2 separate regions of the Homo sapiens genome follow, and region 1 is linked to region 2. The links are contacts of gene promoters, found by promoter capture Hi-C in human tissues and cell types (Jung and others, 2019). All regions are on one chromosome and are shown on one strand. Each heading gives the region's core, a stretch centred on a gene start or on the middle of the fragment in contact. The rest is flanking DNA. Distances are from core to core; before and after follow the strand shown.

What was found. Contacts are between HindIII fragments. The study calls those that stand out against the background at their distance.
Region 1: a contact is called between the fragment with the promoter of PPP1R9B here and the fragment with the promoter of PDK2 in region 2, in 3 of the 25 tissues and cell types used here (IMR-90 fibroblasts, dorsolateral prefrontal cortex and hippocampus).

The regions. Positions count from the first base shown.
Region 1 is chr17:50,149,064-50,153,761 of GRCh38, forward strand. PPP1R9B (protein phosphatase 1 regulatory subunit 9B) reads right to left here and starts at 1,614. Exons shown (of 10, transcript NM_032595.5): 1 at 80-1,614. The coding sequence starts at 1,450. All of the region lies in intron 1 of LOC124904025 (a long non-coding RNA gene), which reads left to right. RefSeq lists silencers at 1-115, 966-1,075, 1,725-1,814, 1,885-1,974, an enhancer at 1,985-2,279 and a cis regulatory region at 4,497-4,698. The HindIII fragment of the contact is 6,486 bases long and covers 1-4,526 here.
Region 2 is chr17:50,093,549-50,098,466 of GRCh38, forward strand. It overlaps PDK2 (pyruvate dehydrogenase kinase 2), which reads left to right and starts at 1,803. Exons shown (of 11, transcript NM_002611.5): 1 at 1,803-2,005; 2 at 3,875-4,016. The coding sequence starts at 1,888. It overlaps LOC124904024 (a long non-coding RNA gene), which reads left to right. Exons shown (of 2, transcript XR_007065837.1): 1 at 1-31; 2 at 794-1,105. It overlaps PDK2-AS1 (PDK2 antisense RNA 1), which reads right to left. Exons shown (of 2, transcript XR_007065842.1): 2 at 4,350-4,918. RefSeq lists enhancers at 962-1,171, 2,203-2,718, 2,719-3,234 and a silencer at 1,552-1,671. The HindIII fragment of the contact is 10,814 bases long and covers 1-4,918 here.

The sequences.
Region 1 (4,698 bases), core at 364-2,863, 55 kb after region 2:
GCTGGCTGGCTGGCGAGCGGGGGCGGCCGCGTGCACGTGGCAGGGGCGGCGCGGGGGCAGGGCGGGGGGGCTCACTTACTTGGATGGGCGCCGTGCTGAAATGGATCTTCCGGCTCGGGGCTGGGTCCTCCTCCTCCGACAGCCCCGGGATCTCCACGCACCCCGACTCGGGCTCGTAGGGGGGCTCCCCATCCTCCTCGTCGTCTTCGTCGTCCTCCTCCAGGGCACTGCCCGCAGAGTCCTCCCCGAGCCCACTGTAGGCGCTCACGTCCACCAAGTCCGCCTCCGAGAAGTCCTCCTTCTTGGATTCATCTACCTCCTCAGGGGCCACGTCCGGGGCCCGGCCATTGCCCACCCCCCTCTCTGGCGGCGCTACCGCCGCCGCCTCCTTCTCCGGGGCCGCTTGGGCCTTTGGCTCCTCGGGCGCGGGGCTGGCTGCAGTTGCCACGGTGCTGCCATTCTCCAGGGCCGCGTGGACCGTAACCTCGGCCTGGATCACCTCCCCGGGCGCCGACTCGGCCTCCGACTCCCCGCTCTCCTCCACCTCCACCGGCTTAATCTTGCGCACCTCCCGGGGCTTGGGGGGCGGCCGGGCAGGGGCCACTCGGTGCTGCGGGGGCTGCTGCCCTGCGGGGCATCGCTCTTTCTCGGCCGGGGCATCCCCCGACGGGGCGGGCGGCGGCGGCGGCGGGGGCTGGAACACCCGGGACCGCTTGCTGACCAGCTTCGAGTTGACCTGGGGAACCCCTGCGGCCCTGGGGAGCCCGGGCCCGCGGTGGAGGCCGGTCCTCGAGTCGGCCTTCTCGAAGACGGCGCTGAGCTGGCTGACCGTGGGGGACACGGCGTCAGCGTCCAGCTTGTCCAGCGCCTCGGTGCTGCCGTTGAAGCGCACCACGACGTCCAGCTTCCGGTCCTGCAGGCCGGCGCGCTCCTGCCTCAGCAGCCGCCGCGCCGCGGCCTCCTTGTCGCCGCCTGCGGCCGCTGGGGCGCTCCGTTCGAACAGCTTCCGCGTCTCCTGCAGCCGGGACGGCGGGTGCGGCGGCGGCGCAGGCTGCGCGGAGGGCGCGGGCTTGGAGTCGAAGCGGCTCACGCGCTCCGACACGCTGGTGCCCAGCTTCAGCAGGGCGCTGTGGTCCACGTTCTCGTTCAGGCTGCTGGCCCGCGGCAGCGACAGGCGCACGCCGCGCTCGGACGCCCGTGGGGCCTCGGCCAGGCCCGCGCCGCCGCCCGCCTCGCCCGAGGGCCCCGCCGTCGTGCCCATCTGCAGGAACATACTTTTGATGCGGTGGACGTTGGAGCCATATTTCTTGTGGTGGGCCCCCTTGGGTGCCTCGTCGGGCCCGGGCGCGTCGGGCGGCTTCAGCGCCTGGATGCCCGCCTCGTAGGCGCTGCGGTGCGGGGAGGCGCTCCGGAGGGGACCCCCGGGCCCCCGTGGCTCCGTCTTCATCATGGTGGGGGGAGCCGGGTTCGCATGCCCCTGCTCCCCGCTCCCCCGCTTCAACAGGCGGCTGGCCAAGTCGGGACCACCGCCCCCTCCCCCCGATAAAAGAAACCCCGAAGGCCTTTTTTAGGGTCCCCCCAAAACCAAGCTGCCAAAAACAGTTAATCCCGCTTTAAAAAAAAAAATGAAAAAAAAAAAATCTCCAAGCGCCCTGTGTGTGGGTCGCCTCCCCCAATCAAGCTGCCGAAGACAGCCAGCCCCGCTTCAAAAGCCCGAGCGGCCTGGTACGGTCGCCCCCACCCAAATTAGCAAAGCGGCGTCTGGGGCCGGTGGGAGCGCGCGCCCTGCCCGCGAAGCAGCCGCGGTGTCGCCGGCTCACATCGTCCGAGACGGTGTCAGCGGGGCTGGCAGCCCGGGCGTCCCCCAGTCCGGCCGGAGGCCTCGGCTCTCGGGGGGCCCGGCACCCCAACGCCCATGGCTGCTCCGCCGGCCCGGGCCGCTCCGCCGCCGCGCCTCCCTCCCTCCCTCCCTCCCCCCCGTGCCCCGAGCCTCGGTCTTTCTCTGGCTTTGCCCGAGCGGCGGCTGCCGGAGACCGAGCGGCTGCCCTTCTCGCAGCCGCCGCTGGGGGACTGGCACCTCTGGGTCCTAAAGGGATCGGATTTCCGGGGCCGGAGCCTGTGAGCCCTCCCCTTCCCCTCCACCCGAACGGATCCCCTCCCCTCCCCAGCCCTCGCGGAGAGCCTTCCGCTGCCCCCGGACGTTGGCCAGCACTCTTCAACCTGCTTCCATCACAACTTCTGACTGCGGTCACAACCCACAGAACCGCACCTCCATGAAATATTGGGGGGAGGCAGTACATCCACGATGGTCTCAGTGTGAGGGGAGGGGGTTTGTAGGGAGGGGCAGAGGTTCATTCTTCAGTGTCCTCGGAGCTAGCTCTTCGGTGTGCTTCAAGCCTTTAGCATCAGAATCGCTGGGCACTTGGTAAAAATGCAGATTTCTGGGATCTCTCTCGAACCTTGTGAAGGAGAATCTCCGAGGCTGAACCCAGGAATCTGCATTTTAACACTTCACTACAGGCAATCTTTGGCCCCCTTGGAGGTGTGAAACCTTGGTCCAGCGCTGGTGACCTTTCGATGGTGGGGGAGGGGTGGTGAAGAAAGGAGGTGAACCCCGTCATCCAAGTAGCAGGGGATCACCAAAACTGCCGAAGTCTGGAAAGGATGTCCTGTCGCCTGTCTGCTGTGCACCCGTCTTCAGGCCCCTACCCTGGCACTCCTGCCTCTCAAACCGGAAGGAAGGGTTTGGGAGCAGGAATTCGAGAGGCCTGGGGCCAAAGTTTCGCCAGTGAGAGCTCTAACTTGGGTCTCTGATTTAAAGGATCCTGGCCACTGTGTTCCGGTTGGGGTGGGGGGGTGGGGAGGGTGACAGTGACTTACACATCCCCTGTCCTGGCAACCCAGAAAGCTGTTTGATGCCCTCTGCACCCCCCGCATACACAGCTAGGGTGCTGGCGCTGCCTGGGCCCTGGGTGTGAGAGTCCGCCCTCTGGACAGGTCCAGGTGAGCTGGTTCATTCCACACATCCCAGAAACTGGTGAACACAATGGGCCCTAGGACCCAGAGAACAACTCAGGCACAAAGCCTCCCCCCACTCCCAGCTGCTTCCTGCATCTCAGGCCTTTCTGCGGCCTCTGCCTCCTCCCCCGCCCTCTTCCCCTCCATCCTCTTCCTCCTTTTCCTAATCTCCCACTCTCTCCCCCCTGGCCTGGAAGGGCTGGCAAAGGGAGCCCTCCTACCACTCCACTGCAGGGGTGTGTGTGGGTTTTGTGGGATATTAACGCGTTACCATGTGCAAAAGAGCTTAGAGTACAGCGTGGGGGATGGGGTGTGGGGAAGCCGCCTGGGAACCCTGGATATTGGGATCGGGAGGGGCCAGGAACCGCAGGACTGATCCTGAGGCTGGTGCTAAGGAAGAGGGAAGATCTAGGTTGTGAGCTAGAGCCGGAAGTGAACCCAGACCTCACACTTTCCAAATGCCACCTGCATCTTTGCCCAGTTGCCCAGGAAACTTACCCCTCCCCAGTTTTGCACTTTGGGATGGTGCAGGGTGAAGAAGTCTGTCTCCTAACCCTTCTTAGAAGGCCTCTGTCAGGAGCAAGCTTTGGGACTTAGATTTCCAAACTCAAGATTGGGTCTTGAAAACCCCTCCCCACAGGCCCCCCAACCCCAATATAGAAGTCCGGAGAAGACAGAAACCTCACCCAGTTGGGGTTTGGAAGTTTGTACAATGTACTCAGAAGCTCTTGTGTGGATTGGAGGAGGGCGCAGGCCCCTGTGTTCTGCCCAGAATCTCCCACACCCTTGGTGGTAGATCATCTTAACTGGTCCCAGCCCAAGGGGTCTGTGCCCACGCGTCTGGCCAGGTGGGGAAGCCCCCAGTTTCTGAGGGTGGGAGAAGGAGCTGAGAACCAGCTACCAGGCCCAGAGACCCTCGGACTCCCAGCATTTCCGGTAGCAGCTTAGAGCAAACTGGAATTACAGGGGTGCTCTTGGGTCTCCCTTGTCCAAAGGATTATGAATCTCCGGACAAACCCCTTTAACAGACCCTTCTAGGGGGTTTGGGCTTCAAGAGGGTGGAGCTAGCCAGAGCTTGGGGGACTGAGGCTAATCAGTGGGATTATTATTTCATGGGCTCCTGGTTAGCAGAGCAACACCCTGGCCAGAATTCCCAAAGACGCTTTTATGGAGCGGTAAGTGCTTCACCATCACTTGTTCTCTGGTGTCAGGCACCAAGCCGGCTGGCCTGTGAGATGGGTGAAGAATGGGGTCTCATTCCCTCCATCCCTTCTCTGCCTGTCTGGAGCAGTAATCGCACCTGATAGGAACAAGGAGGGTTTGGGAGGGTTACCATCCAAACTGAAGGCTTTAAATAGAATTTTCATTCATTGGGCTGTCATCTTCACCTACATCCTCCAGTGAGGAAGCACTCCAGGATAATTTAACCACCCTTTCTCTTTCCTTTGTCTTCATGGAAGAGACTTTGATGGCCAAGTTGCCCAGTGGTCTTTGGATGGAAGTTCCTTCCTTACCTTTGCCTTGGCATAGAGTGGTTGACCTAGGAGCCAGGCTGCTAGGGTTCAAATCTTGGCTTCACTGCTTACTGGCTGTGTGACCTTGGACAAGTCACTTATCCTCCTCTGTGCCCTGGGAGGATGAAAGAAGGCCCAGAAAGGACGAGAGTGGCTCGGACACAGA
Region 2 (4,918 bases), core at 553-3,052:
AGATTAGAGGCTGGTTCAAGGCAGCAGACAGGTATGGCTGGGAGCTGCATGGGGGAATGTAGAGAGAGGAGTCTGGAGAATTAAGCAAAAGTCAATCGACTTGTGACAACTGGAAAGGCTCCAGTAAGAAGAAGAGAGCCATTGATGGCCTAGCACAGTGCCTCATACCTGTAATCCCTGCACTTTGGGAGGTTGAGGCGGGCAGATCACTTGAGGTCAGGAATTCAAGACCAGCCTGGCCAACATGGTGAAACCCTGTCTCTACTAAAATTACAAAAATTAGCCAGGCATGGTAGTACATGCCTGTTATCCCAGCTACTTGGAAAGCTGAGACAGGAGAATCGCTTGAACCTGGGAGGAGAAGTTTGCAGTGAGCCAAGGTTGTGCCACTGCACTCCAGCTTGGACGACAGAGGGAGACTCAATCTCAAAAAAAAAAAAAAAAAAAAAAAAAATAGCCCATTGAAAGGCTGTGAGCAAGGAAGTAATAAGGTCAGATTTGCAGTTGAGAATGATCCCTGAGTCTCGGTTTTCTTATCTATGAAATGAGGCTAAGAATAATAAAATAGAGAATTAAATGAGATAATGCCTGTAAACAGTGCCTGGCATATAGCTTATTATTCATCCAGCTAAGAGGCCCTTCCATATGTGAAGCTTTGCTCTGTGAGGTCTGTATTACAATCACATTCAGTTATAGCTAATTATTTACTTATGTAGCTATCTCTGAAACTTAGAAATGAAATCATCGAGGAAAAAGGCCATTTCTTGATCCTGTCTGTGTTCCCTGTTCCCAGCATAAAGCCTAACACGTATTAGGCTAATGTCACCGAGCAAAGAAAGCATCAAAGTGGCGGGTCGGGCCCTAAACCCACGATGGGAGATACCACATTCGGCCACAAGAGGGCGCGTCACATTTTCTCCAAGAGAAGCTGGGCCGCTGATGAAGGACGGGCTCCGGGCCTCCCAGAGACACTTCACCTCCTGGGATCTTGCTCTAAGGAAGCCCGGTGCGAAGGAGGTGGCTTTCTCAGGTGGTCGCGCTAGATGTCCAAGGCTTTATGTTCGGTCAGATGAGCTGTATAATAAAATGAAAGTGTTAACTGGCATGGACGATAGCTGCTGCCTCCACCGCCACTAGTAGTGATGGTTTTTACTCTGGATGTTTTTCAGTTGGAAAAGCAAACTCCGCCTTTTCCTGAGCCGCTTGGATCTTTGTGGAAGCGGGTGGGCTGCATATATACAGGACGGATTCGTATAGGCTTGCACCCTGGTTCCGAATTTTGCAAATATTCGCAGTCTGGGTCACTGTCATCCGGACTGGGAATCCCCAAGACCCGTTAAGGGAGGATAGGTAACGATCATGACAGGTGAAACAGGTACCTTTGAGTTGGAGAAAAGGGATTGGTTGAAAGCTACCTAGACAACTCTGGAAAGGAAGGGTTAAAAGGAGCCTGCAGGTGAAGGAGATGCGAGGGGGTAGCAAGGGAAAGGCAGGCGTGGAAGAGGAAGCGAAAGGGCTGGCGGGGCTCTGGGAAGGAAGGGGTTAACCCGGGCTTCGCCCCGCGGAGGAAAGGGAGGAGTGAACACAGGGGAGGTGGGAACTCGGCGCGGCCTCCCCAAAACAACAGGCCGCCCCGGCAAAGCGTGGGTTAAGGGGGCGGGCCCGGGGGAAGCCACGTGCCGGGGCGGAAGGCTATTGGTTCGCCCGGAGTTGTTTGTGAGTGGCCATTGGCGACGTCGAGGCGCCATGACGAGCCGATTGGCTGGGCGTTGGAATGCCCGCCAGGGCAAGGGTAGGGAGGAGGCGGCCGAACCGCGTCGCTGGGCCGAAAGGTGCGCGAGCGCTGCCCGCGCGGGGACCACAACCAAAGTCGCGGCCGCCGCAGCCATGCGCTGGGTGTGGGCGCTGCTGAAGAATGCGTCCCTGGCAGGGGCGCCCAAGTACATAGAGCACTTCAGCAAGTTCTCCCCGTCCCCGCTGTCCATGAAGCAGTTTCTGGACTTCGGTACGGAGTGGGCGGGAGGCGGCTGGCAGCGGAGGCCGGCGGGGCGCTGGGAGGGGCAGCCGGGGGCTAGGGGGACGGAGGAGAAGAAAGGCCCCGAGTGACAGAGAAGGGTTGTTTGGAAAGGTACAGGCAGGAAAGAGTTAATGGGGAAGCAGGAACCGGCCGGGGCCTCTCGACGGGGCTGCTGATGGGAATGGGGGGCATTTACAAGGACGGTCCCGAGGTTTCTTCGTGGGCCTCATGAAGGGTCTTGAAGAGTAAGGGGCAGTGAAGCTGTGATGTTACTGCAGGAAGGGAGTAGGGTGGTATCCAGACGCGAAAGGGTTAATGGGAGTTGTCCTCATGACTGGAGGAGTAGGGGCCCCTCCTCCCACCAGAGGAAACCGGGGGTCTGCTGGTGGGAGTGAGGAGGCAGGGTTTAGAGGTGCAGCCATCTGTAGAGAGACCTGGACTGGGCATGAAGGGTCAGACACCCCTGGGCAGAGGGTGAGATTAAGCCAGGGGCAGTTGGGGAAGGGGGCTCTTTCAGAAGATGCCATTGGGAGACAGTGCCCTGACTGGTAGACATCCACCCACAGAAGGAGCTGGACCCTAGCTGCCCCAGTGGGCAAGGACACTTGAAGATCAAATCTGTTCCGGCCTGGCAGCCTCTCCCCAGCTGGGCAGGGGCCCCAGGCACCGTGATGTGGAGTCAAGCCGCCTATACCTCCCTTGGCTGCCCCAGGGCTGCTAGGTCAGGATCGCCCACTACCAGCAACCTGGGGGTGGCCCTGGGGCAGGAGGGAGGCTGTGCCAACGTGGCAGCTGAAATGGGCATTGTGTGGGCCCTGTCTGTCTATGTGGTATTTCCATGGTGCCAGCTGGGGACTGGGGGTGGGGGGCAGTCTCTCAAGAGTTGAGTTGATAGTGCCTAGCTTGGGTTGCAGCTGCGTCAATGATGGGACGGGAACAGAGAGGTGGCAGCCGAGACATAAGGCACCTGTTCCTCAGGACTTGTCTGCCTGCACCCCTGCCCTGCCTGAGTCTTGAGCCTCCCCCATGTAGGAAAGCCTCCTGGGCCCACCCCTAGCCCCCAGCAGCTGTCCCCACAAACTGCACCCTAATTACAGAAACATCACAGCTGTGAGGGGCTCACAGTAGAGTTTGGTCAACTTGTAGTACTATGGGGGAAACTGAGACCTTCAAAAGGATGATGGCATGGCCTGGGTGACAGAGTTGGAAGCAGAGCCTGATGGACTGGAACCCAGGGCCCCTGACCCTGGGCCAAGGCCATATTCGGTCCCCCACCCTTTCCATCTTGACACCAGACAAGGACCGAGGCATTTGGACTCCTGTTCTCAGGCCCGTTTGCCCCATGGATGGGCATTAAGACACAGCAGCCCCACATGGGCATTCAGGCCAGGCTGGGTGAGGTGGGCTGGCCAGAGACAACACTGGGAGCCTGCAGTGGTGGTCTAGCCATAGCCCCCCTCAGCCAGAGCCCAGTCCTAGGTAGGGATGGGTTTCCCAGGCTCCTTTGTCCCCTGGAATCAGCCCCTCAAAGTGAGTGTGCTGGGAGGGAAGGAAAGAGAAGTGAGGTGACTGAGGCCAGAGGCAGCTCCAAATGGGCCCAGGAGTGGCCCTGTCCACTGTGGTTAAAGGCAAGCAGGGTTCAGCTGGGGATGAGGAGAGGATGACACCTCCTGAAGTGTTAGGCATGGGGTGTAGGTGTTTGAGCCCTGCAGGGGATGGGGAGCCTTGCTGTGTGCCCCGGGCAGGTCACTTGCTCTCTGAGCCCCCTGTTAATGAAGGGTTTAGCTGACCTGGCCGAGACATCCTTTGGCTTTCATAGTCTGTGGCTCTGTGGCTCACCCCTCTTTCTCCTGCCAGGATCCAGCAATGCCTGTGAGAAAACCTCCTTCACCTTCCTCAGGCAGGAGCTGCCTGTGCGCCTGGCCAACATCATGAAAGAGATCAACCTGCTTCCCGACCGAGTGCTGAGCACACCCTCCGTGCAGCTGGTGCAGAGCTGGTGAGACCCCTGGCTCAGTCCCTGCACCTCCCACTCCATCGCCAGTGTCCCTGGGCTCAGGGATGGCATCTCCAAGCTTTTAGCAGCTTTGAGGGTGGGGTGGGGACAGACAGGAGACACCAAAGCCCCAAGCGCTTGGAGTTGCCTAGGGTCACGTGGGAATCTGAGGCCAGAGCAGGACTGAGGTCAAGCTCCTAGTCTCTGTGTCTAGCCCTCTTCTTACCACCCACCTTTCTCTGGAAACACAGGATCCACCTAGGAAAGCATGGTTTTCACAGCCAAAACCCCAATTCAGGCTGATGTCAGCATTAGCCAGCAGCCCAGACCTGGAACTCCAGTAACTGTTAGGCAGTATTTATTTGGGGGTAACTTTTTGGGAAGCAGAAACAAGAAGTAAGTTTTCAAATACATTATATAACCCAAGCTGCAAGACAGACTGTTTTGGATGTTGGAAAATACTCAGATACACACAAGGATGGCACAGTACCTTCCCGAAGAGCTTTGGAGGGGCAAAGACCAAACGTTTATTGCGCACTGCAGCAGGAACAGAGGGAAAGGCTCAGCAGAGTTCACTCAAGAACTCAAGTTAAGTAACTGGATGAAATTAGCCAAAGGCCAGTCACGTGAAGAATAAACAAGGGTGTCCCTTGTCACTGGGCATGTAAATAGCTAATCCTCATTGACTTTGGTGGCACCCTTGCAGAAATCTTGGGCTGGTTCTTTTGGACTTGCAGTATGATATAGTTGTGATTTCCCTGTAGACTGAGGAGCACGTGCCCACATGTATTCTGAGCTCAAAGCCATGCGAAGTCACAGCAGCTGCCCTCAGAGGCCTGTGATCTTGAGGGAAAAATAATATTCACCCAGGCAGGGTGAACTGAGTCCAGCATAGTGCTAGGAGC